Regions from separate parts of the Homo sapiens genome. Here regions 2 and 3 are each linked to region 1. The links are contacts of gene promoters, found by promoter capture Hi-C in human tissues and cell types (Jung and others, 2019). All regions are on one chromosome and are shown on one strand. Each heading gives the region's core, a stretch centred on a gene start or on the middle of the fragment in contact. The rest is flanking DNA. Distances are from core to core; before and after follow the strand shown. Region 1 holds the start of POU3F3 (POU class 3 homeobox 3). Region 2 overlaps LINC01965 (long intergenic non-protein coding RNA 1965). Region 3 overlaps LINC01965 (long intergenic non-protein coding RNA 1965).

The links. The method cuts DNA at HindIII sites, captures the fragments that hold promoters and counts their contacts. A contact is called where the count stands out against the background at its distance.
Region 2: a fragment that was not itself captured here is called in contact with the fragment with the promoter of POU3F3 in region 1 in 2 of the 25 tissues and cell types used here (dorsolateral prefrontal cortex and neural progenitor cells).
Region 3: a fragment that was not itself captured here is called in contact with the fragment with the promoter of POU3F3 in region 1 in 1 of the 25 tissues and cell types used here (dorsolateral prefrontal cortex).

Annotation. Positions count from the first base shown.
Region 1 is chr2:104,852,713-104,855,707 of GRCh38, reverse strand. POU3F3 (POU class 3 homeobox 3) reads right to left here and starts at 1,593. Exons shown (of 1, transcript NM_006236.3): 1 at 1-1,593. The coding sequence starts at 197. It also overlaps a transcript of PANTR1 not described here. RefSeq lists an enhancer at 1,400-1,989. The HindIII fragment of the contact is 12,067 bases long and covers 1-2,995 here.
Region 2 is chr2:103,970,001-103,972,995 of GRCh38, reverse strand. All of the region lies in intron 1 of LINC01965 (long intergenic non-protein coding RNA 1965), which reads right to left. Among named protein-coding and RNA genes, the nearest start is that of LINC01965, 97 kb to the right of the region's middle. The HindIII fragment of the contact is 6,653 bases long and covers 1-2,995 here.
Region 3 is chr2:104,021,170-104,024,164 of GRCh38, reverse strand. The region is part of intron 1 of LINC01965 (long intergenic non-protein coding RNA 1965); the gene reads right to left. Among named protein-coding and RNA genes, the nearest start is that of LINC01965, 150 kb to the right of the region's middle. The HindIII fragment of the contact is 4,134 bases long and covers 1-2,995 here.

The DNA of each region.
Region 1 (2,995 bases), core at 344-2,843:
TCCCCCCGGTAGGCGCCCGAGGTCACGGCGGCGCTGCCCGGCTGCATGCCGCCGCCCCCGCCCCCTGCGCCGCCCCCGCCGCCGCCGCCGCCGCCACCCCCGCCGCCGCCAGCCCCTGCCGCGTCCGAGTGCACAATAGAGCCGGCCGCGAGCAGGCTGTTCCCCGGCAGGTAGGGGTTAGAAGCCGCCGTGGCCATGCCGCTCCGCTCCCGCCACCCCACCGCCGCCACCACCGCCGCCGCCGCCGCAGCAGCAGCCGCGGCCGCCGCCGCCGCCGCCGCCGCCGCGCCCCCCGCCTCCCGCCTCCTCCCCCCCTCCTTCCCCGCCCCCGCCCCGGGCCCCCGCCGGCCCCGCCGCCTTCGCCGCCTCCTCCTCCGCCGCCGCCTCCGCCCCCGCCGCCGCCGCCGCCGCCGCGGCCCCCGGCTGCAGCTGCAAGGCCGCTCGGCAGGGCGCGGGGGTCGCCGGCCGGCCTTGGTCACCAGCAGCAGCAGCAGCCGCAGGAGCAGCGCTCTGGGGAGGGGGGCTCGCTTCTCGGGGTGCGCTCCGTGGCCACCCCCTTCAGGGGGGGTCGTGGCCGCCCCCCAGCCCCGGCGCGCTGGGCTCGCTCCAGCGGGGCTCGCCGGGCGGGGCGGGGACCTGCACTCGGGGCGCTCTCCCGGGACGCGCGGGCTCCCGCTCCTCCTCCTGTCCTCGGGCGAGCCCGGACTCTGCCCGGTCGCGGGGCTCCGTCCACCTGCTAAGTGAAGGTTTCACGGGAGATAACAAAGAAAGAAGCTGCTCCTTTCTTCCTTAGCCAAATTACGGATGACCAGCAACCGGCCCGCTCCTTCTCTTGTCCGCTCTCTCCTCTCCTCTCCTCTCCTCCTCAGGAACACATTTCACTCGTTTTCCCTTAGAGTAGTAAAACTTTTTCGTCCTTGAAGGCGTGGTGCTGCTGGCTGCTCGCGAGTGCGGAGAGGGGAGGCTGGCTCCTGCTCTCCCCCTCTGGTCCTCTCGTTTCAAGTTTTGTTCTGTCCTAGGAAAACTTCTTGCGATGGTGCATTTCTCTGAAGTTGCTATTGCCGGAGCTCTTGGTTGCCTCTGAAACAAGAGTCCTTTTTCATTCTCCTCGCAACAGTCACAGTCTGATGCGACATCTTTCCTTTTGGGCAGAAATTAGGAAACAAATATAACAAGGAAAAAATTGAACAGGAAAAAAAATGATGTCGAATCGCTCTGTTACCTTGTTGCTGACGGTTGGGGTTGGTGTTTTATTTTTTTCCCAGCAGTTGTCTGGAGAAGGAGGAGGAAGAAGAGTGCATTGGTGGAGGTGGAGGTGTGTGTGTGCATATAGGGGATCGATCCTTGATACACAACAACTCCAGTGGGCACGCTGCACGGCTCGTAGAGTGCACCGACGGCGGGCGCTGGCGCTGGCCGTGCTGGAGCAGAGTTGCAGCAGGAGCTCGCTCTGCGCCCTCGTTCGCGCTCTCTTTCCCTCTCTCACTTTTCCTCTCCCTCCCTCTCTCTCTCTCCCTCTCTCGGGCGCCCGCTCTCGCTCCGATCTGACAGTTCGCTCTCTGTCCCTCCCTCTCAGAGCGGGGACTGTCGAATGTTTACCCTCCGCCGCGAGCGCGCACCCACCACCACACTTTCCCAAATACAAGGAAGTCGAGCACCAGGGCCCCCGCTGATTGGCTACCCGCTGGGTGATTGGCAGGCTCGGAATGACTGGCTCAGGACGCGAGGCCCCCCTTCCGGCCGTTCCGATTGGTTGCTTTTTAATTTAGGCAGAGCGTCGTAGAAGCTGGAAATCTGTCGTCCTCCAGCCTCCCTCCCCCTCACCACTTTCCCCTCCCCGCCCCTCCCCCGCCGCCCCCTCCGCCACATCTTAACTCTTAGTGTCCGGCCCAGACGTTGGCGTTCCCTCGGCGGCTCTGGGCGTTCGCAATAGGTCTGGGCGGGGGGAAGAAAGGGGAGATAAAAGGGAGGGAGGGACGAGAGGGGGGAAGAGAATCAGAAGGAAAACGAAGGGGGAAACATGAAAAATAGCAACCTGCCCACCCCACCTAGTACGCGTCGGGTTGCTCACCCCCTTACCCCCGCCCCGCCAGAGATTTGTAAAGCGCGCGGCACGGATGTACCATTCAAGCTAATACCTATAGACAGATGTGTCCCCAGTGGTTTCAAAGTTTCCTCTTCCCTTCACCAGCCGGCCCCCTTCTCTGATCGGCGGGGGTGGGAAGCGGGGGCTCGCATCGCCAAGAGCTCTGGTCGTGGCCACGCTCCTTGGAAATCCGCCACCGCAACTTTCCGCAGCCGTTGCGCGCCGGCGGCAGCCCCCTTTGTTTAAGTTCTCGGATGCCATCATCTGGGAAACCTGCAGCCCAGGACCAGCGCGGTGCCCGCGCGTGCGAGACGGACCGCTCGCTGCCGCCGCTCCCTGGCTCCTCCACCCCCTCTCTCCCTCCTTCGCTCTCCCTCCCTTCCTCCCTCCTCCCTCCTCTGGGATTCGTGCAAGTAGCGTGCGTGCCCTTGTGAGTTTGGAGGGTGCCGGTCAGCGGAGCCGTGCGATGTATTTGAAAAGCAATCAGTCCGACCTTCCCCCATAGATTCATCGTAAGTGTATTCGACCCCAATGGCTTTAGGAATTCCCTGTGGCAGCAGGAGCCGGGCGAAAGAACCGGGATCGGCTAGCCGCGCCCTTCTCTGCTCCACCGCTTCCTCGTGTGTGTGTGTGTGTGTGTGTGTGTGTGTGTGTGTGATTAGCGGTGGGGGGGTTTGCTCGCTCTCTATTCTTAGGCATGGTGGTGCTTTTTTTTCTTTCCTTTCTGTCTCAGATGGATTTGCGTGGTGGATGGGGCTGGCGGCGACAAATGCTTTCTCAGCTCTAACCCAGCTGAAAGAGTTAAGGGGGATGGGAGGGGGAGTGCACCCGGTAGGCGAGAGAAGCGGGGGTGGGGTGGGGTGGGGTGGGGGGACGCGGCCAAGCGGAAACGCTGCACAGAGGAACCTC
Region 2 (2,995 bases), core at 266-2,765, 880 kb after region 1:
GGGCATTTTTTGTTATTTTTTTAAATCTCTAAAAGGCAGGCCTGCCCTACTTTCACCTGAACGTAACTTCACATTTTATTATTACATTCAGAACAAAGGCTGCTGCACATGAAGTTTCAGTTGCTCCAACGAAAATCCATCTGATGCTGTATGGTTCTGTACTAAACACACCCTAATTTGGTCTGAAAAGAAAATTAAATCCAAGCAAGAATTCAGGAAGAAAAACAAAGAAACCAGGATTTCTTTTGTGTCCTCAAGGGAAAAAAATGTGGGGCATGTAGAATACTACAAAGCTTTAAGGTGCAAAATTTGGCTCCATCTTTTAAAAAATGTTTAATGAGGACCTACTATGCAGAAGACATGGTTCTGAGCATCCTACATGAATCATTTCACTTAATTATGCAACAGTCCTACAATGCAGATGCTATGTGTCCAAGAGTTACAATGGATGTAAGGATTTAAGGCTCAGAGAGGTTATGTAACACATTTTTCTCACCCAGTGACTAAGTGGTGTAACAAACATTCAGATTCAGGCAAGTCGAATTGCATCTGCACTTAACCATTTCAACTAATATTTACGTATTAATTTAGCCAATAAGAGAAACTTAGTATTTATGAATATTATAGACAAATCAAGGTTTCAAAATCCTAAATGTTTGTTGGATATTTGGGGTAAGATACATGGCCTCTTTCTCTTTTGCAGTAAAATGCTGGCTAGTAAATCTAGACTAGAGCAAGGTAAGAACGTTTAAATCCCTTCCTTTGGATTTTTAGCAGCTTTGGTAGAATAGTTCAAATGGCTGACTAAATTAAATTTGGGGAAAAATAGTGGATCAGTTGATTGGCAGACCTGTTTTCCATTGATACAGACAATTAAAAATTTATACAAAAAGATAAAGTTTATAATACTATGTTTCAGTTTCTGTTGTACTAACCACTAGTTGATTTTTCCTGTCTTTTTTTTTTTTTTGCTTTCATTTATAGACCATGGCCAGCAAGTATTCTGCTGTTTTGCTGTAAGTCAACAGCAACTGCAATTAGAAAGATATTACAAGTCTACAAATGGTAGTAGCATCCAAGACAAATCCTAGCCGAGCTGCAGATGGCAGCTTCTCTTCAGAAAGGCATTCTTCCTTTTCCCAATGCAGTAATTGTTGCATTTCCCGAGTGGAAGAACCTGAATTGTGGAAATAATGAAAGTTCCACCATAGTTTGAGCACATAAGAGAGAAAAATGGTTAGTAAAATTTGAAATGGTTTGAAAAATAATTGTCTGCCAAAATATAATTTGTTTCTCAGAATTAAAAAAATAAACTGCATCTATCTTTACCGTTCAAGCTCTTCCTTAGGCCTTTCCTATATCCTTGTTTGGCTTTCTGTATTTTAAATTTGATAGACTGTCCCTGAATGCGTCAAATTCACATAAAGTACAGCCAAAGCCACAAATGATAAAAAAAATCATTCAAAAGCAGGACATAACCCAAAATGAAAACAAGTTATATGAATGAGAGGGTTGCAACCTAAGTGTAATATTTGTTTCATTTGACATTTGATGAGCCAGTTCTTGGTGGGGGCTTAGTTTCATTTCCGTGGCCTCAGTCTGGGACTTTTGGAAAATGTATGTTCCAGGCTGGGCCTGGTGGCTCACACCTGTAATTGCAACACTTTGGGAGGCGGAGGCGGGTGGATCACTTGAGGTCAGGAGTTCAAGACTAGCCTGACCAATATGGTGAAACCCCATCGCTACTAAAAATACAAAAATTAACCAGGTGTGGTGGCATGTGTCTATAGTTTCAGCTTCTCAGGAGGCTGAGACATGAGAATTGCTTGAACCCTGGAGGCGGAGGTTGCAGTGAGCAGAGATCATGCCACTGCACTCCAGCCTGGGCAACAGAGTGAGAATTCGTCTCAAAAAAAAAAGTGTCCCACAAGTGAGTTTGGAACCTTGAGATCATTCTCATTCCATGGAAAGACAATATAATGAAAAGCACGTGGGGTCTACCAGATAAAACATAATAAGCCTTCACTGTGACCGTAGGTCATTTGTGTACAAGAGCATGTCAGCAGGGATCAAATGGAGCAACAGAGAGGTGGGGAGTCTCCATCTTCAGAGACAAATCTGGGCACACATTAAAAATATTTAATTTGTGTTAGGAACCTTTCCACTACTTATTCAGTACCTCAGGTGGTCACTGTCTTTATATTTCCCGCAAGTGTACTGCCCCTCAGGATAGACCGTCATCTAAGCATTAACTACCTATCAAAATCTGCCCAGCATTAAACTTAATAAATAAAAACTATTATAATGTTTGCATTCATAATGATAGCCATAAGAAATATTGACTGAGTTGTTTCTATGGAATATTCATTCTTCTGAAGGCTTCATAGCTATTTGCCTACTTATTTCTTACCATAATTTTATGAGATACATAGTTTTCTTGTACCATTTTATGGATAAGGGATAAAGCCTTCCAAGAAAAATGACAAATGAGAAAGAAAGTAATCAATAAATCAATTCACATAAAACTTTAAATGGCTGGTAACCTTCAGAAAGATATGGAATGAGAAATATCCTTGTTATCTCTGATGATTCCTAATTGACAAATTTTAACTCAATAGAAGAAACAAATTAGAAAAAAATCATGCAGTGGTTAGAGAAAAGGCATTTGAAAAAGTCAACATCCATATATGATAAAAACTTGGAGCAATAAAAAAATGCTAGAGAACCTCTTCAACTCAATAAAGAACATCTAACAAAATTGGCAGCTAATATTATAATTAATCATGAAAAACTGGGCACATTCTTCCAAGATTATGACCAAAGCAATGATGTCCTCTCTCACCACTTCTATTCAACAGTGTACTGGAAGTCCTAGTTGGCTTAATAAGATAGGAAATGAAATAAAACACATACAGATTGTGAAGGAAAAAATAATATTATGTTCATTAACAGATGACATAATCATCTCTATAGAAATTCCCAAATAATGGATTTA
Region 3 (2,995 bases), core at 323-2,822, 830 kb after region 1:
CTCAATGCTTTCACTCTCAAAGCTCTATTTTTAATGGGTTGTTTCCAAAATTTCCTGCATTCATCAATCAGATATCAATTGCGGGGGGCCTGATTGGGTCTCCCTCCACCTCCATCATTCCCTGCTGCCTGAGCACTGCCTGCCAAATGTTACAGGAAGTGACTTGAATAGCGACAGCAGATCCAGCAGCACCCTCAGTGTGCTGGTGGGTCATTGCCATCCCCACCGAGAACCCAGAACATCTGCTCTCTAAACACAGGGTCTGATGCATAATCAGCTTGCAGAAGACCATCTCTCCCAGTACATCACGGATCCTGGCACCTCGACACGTGCAATTGAACCAACCCACACACCCGCACCTCCACGTCTTCCTCCAATGTGTGGATTTGAAATGCAAAGTCTAGCTTTTAGTTTGTTTTATTTCAAAAAAAGAAAAGAGAAAACAAGCAAGAAAAAAATCCACATGGATTAAATAATGAATGAATCCCTTTAAGAATCTAATGGAGGACATATACATATGAAAGGAAATGATCACAGTGATAGAGGCAAGTTCAAGTGATAAGGAAAGATTGGTTGGCATAGAAATTGGCTGTTGCTGCTCCAAGGATCCCAAAGTGCACTATTTTTCTGATGTAGTCTTCATGCAAGTGTGATTTTTCAGCATATGGAATGTAGAAGGATAGGGCTCCCCGAACTAAGTCACACAAAATTGATATTCGCCTGTGGGGACTGAAGAACTTTTTGAGAACTACCTGGCATGGAAATTTATGTGAAGATTCTTCACAATGCAAAGGATGATACAGTGGCTCTTGAACTATTTCCTTATTGTGCTCATCTCAAACAGATGTCTTTTTGTTCATTGCATTCCTTGCACAGACATATTGGCTGTAACCTTCTGTTTTAGAGGGACTGTGCAGGATGATTTTCCACATGCTGAGATGCTAAACAAGGGTGTGTGCTCCGTGTTTGATTACTCAGTGCCTCAGTGGCAACAGGCAACTGCAGCAATGCCTTTGATAATATTTCTTAGAGGAATTAGGAAAAGCGAATTTGGTGTACTTTATTTTTGCTATTAAAGAAAGGCATTGAATTATCTTTTATTCTTTTTTTTCCCTTAACATATTAGAGGGAGTTTCCGGTTCTCTATTGCACAATGCCACACAGACACACAGCATATCATTGGGTGATAAATGAGAGCTTGGTGAATATGAAATTACTGATACTGTGTTAACAAAAATCTACCTGTGTGCAAAGTTCTTATGCATCTGTATCTTGTCTTTGTGACCGTGCACAAGTTGCCAAACCTCTTTGAACCTCATAATTCCTAAACTTTGGTAAAATAAAAATTACCGTGTAGCTTTGGGGAGTTCTACATGAGATCTGCTTCTTACATCTGCTGGCATCTAACAGCCCTCCCCTTCAAGTCTTCATGTAAAATTCAGGGGTACGTATTACCCATCCCCTCCCCCGTTCCCAAGGAACACTCTCTCCAGCTTCTTAGCTTTATTTTTCTCTGCAATACTGTCTACCCTTGAACTCCAGGATTTCCCTGTTTGCTTCATTTCTTGTCTGTCTTTCTCTTACTAGAATATGAATTCACCAGAGCAAGGGTTTTTGACTGTTTTGTTTATTACTCCATCCCCATTGCACGCTCTGATCCAAATTATATTACCAGCTCTGTAAATATGGATTAGATGAGTGGATAAATAAATTTTTACATTAATAAATGAATGGAAAGCCTAGATTTATTTAAAATATCTCTTTTCCATCCTGTGGAGTTACGTGGGATTCTCTGCCAATGAATTTATTGAAAATATCTTTTCCTAAACCTTTCAGGGGCCAAATAGAATATTTTCTTCCAAATGTACAAAGTAAAGTCTGTGTTTTTTAAAGCATGTTTCCCAAGGCACATCTGACGTTAAATCTAGCATGGAAGGGAACCCTTTGTCCACTCGAGAAAATGTTTCCCTTATCGAAGTTGGACGGCCAGGTGGAAAAATTGCACTATGCTGTCCACCTAGTCGATGACCCAGCAGTGTGGCATAGTGACCTAGCCTGTTGTAGCCCAAGTCACTAAGCCTAGAAACCACCTTCTAGTCTCTGCCTGTTTTGAACAAGCTGGTGAATCATCAGGACTTCCATTTCCCCATTTAAAAAATACATGCACAGATTTAGTTTCCAGTCTGGCACTAAACTACTCCGAAAATTTTGGCATTTCATGTTGTACCCCATGAGCTAGATAGGGTAAAGGACAGATCAACCACTTTTTTTTTTTTTTTTTTGTCTGTGAGACGGAGTCTCAGTCTGCCGCCCAGGCTGGAGTGCAGTGGCGCGATCTAGGCTCACTGTAAGCTCAGCCTCCCGGGTTCACGCCATTCTCCTGCTTCAGCCTCCCGAGTAGCTGAGACTACAGGCGCCCGCCACCATGCCCTGCTAATTTTTTTGTATTTTTTTTTTAGTAGAGGCGGGGTTTCACCGTGTTAGCCAAGATGGTCTGGATCTCCTGACCTCGTGATCCGCCCGCCTCCGCCTAGAACCACCGCACCCGGCCCAGATCCACCACATCTTATGTCTAATTCCATTCTATGGTAAAACATGACTTCTGGTGCATTAATAGCATTGAAGGCTCACCTTTTGTAACTACCCTGATCACTGGAAGATATGAGAAAAAACAAGTACTAGGAAATAAAACCAAGAGACTGTGGCAGTACCTGGAGCCCGGGATCCCATCCATATTCCCGTATCCTCGATCCCCGCCCCCTTTTTTTTGACGAAGAACATCTACAGATTTGTTAAATCAAGAAAAGAACAAGAAAAAAAAACCCTTATTTTAAATGCATCCCTTAATGCCAACTATTCTTAATGTAGATGAAAGTCCACACTGAAAGGCATATGATTACAATAAAGAGAGGGAAGAAAATCTTTCTTCAGGAGGGAAAGTTATAACTTACACATGTTTAGAATTACCCAGAGAGCTATTTGTCCTCCTAATGCA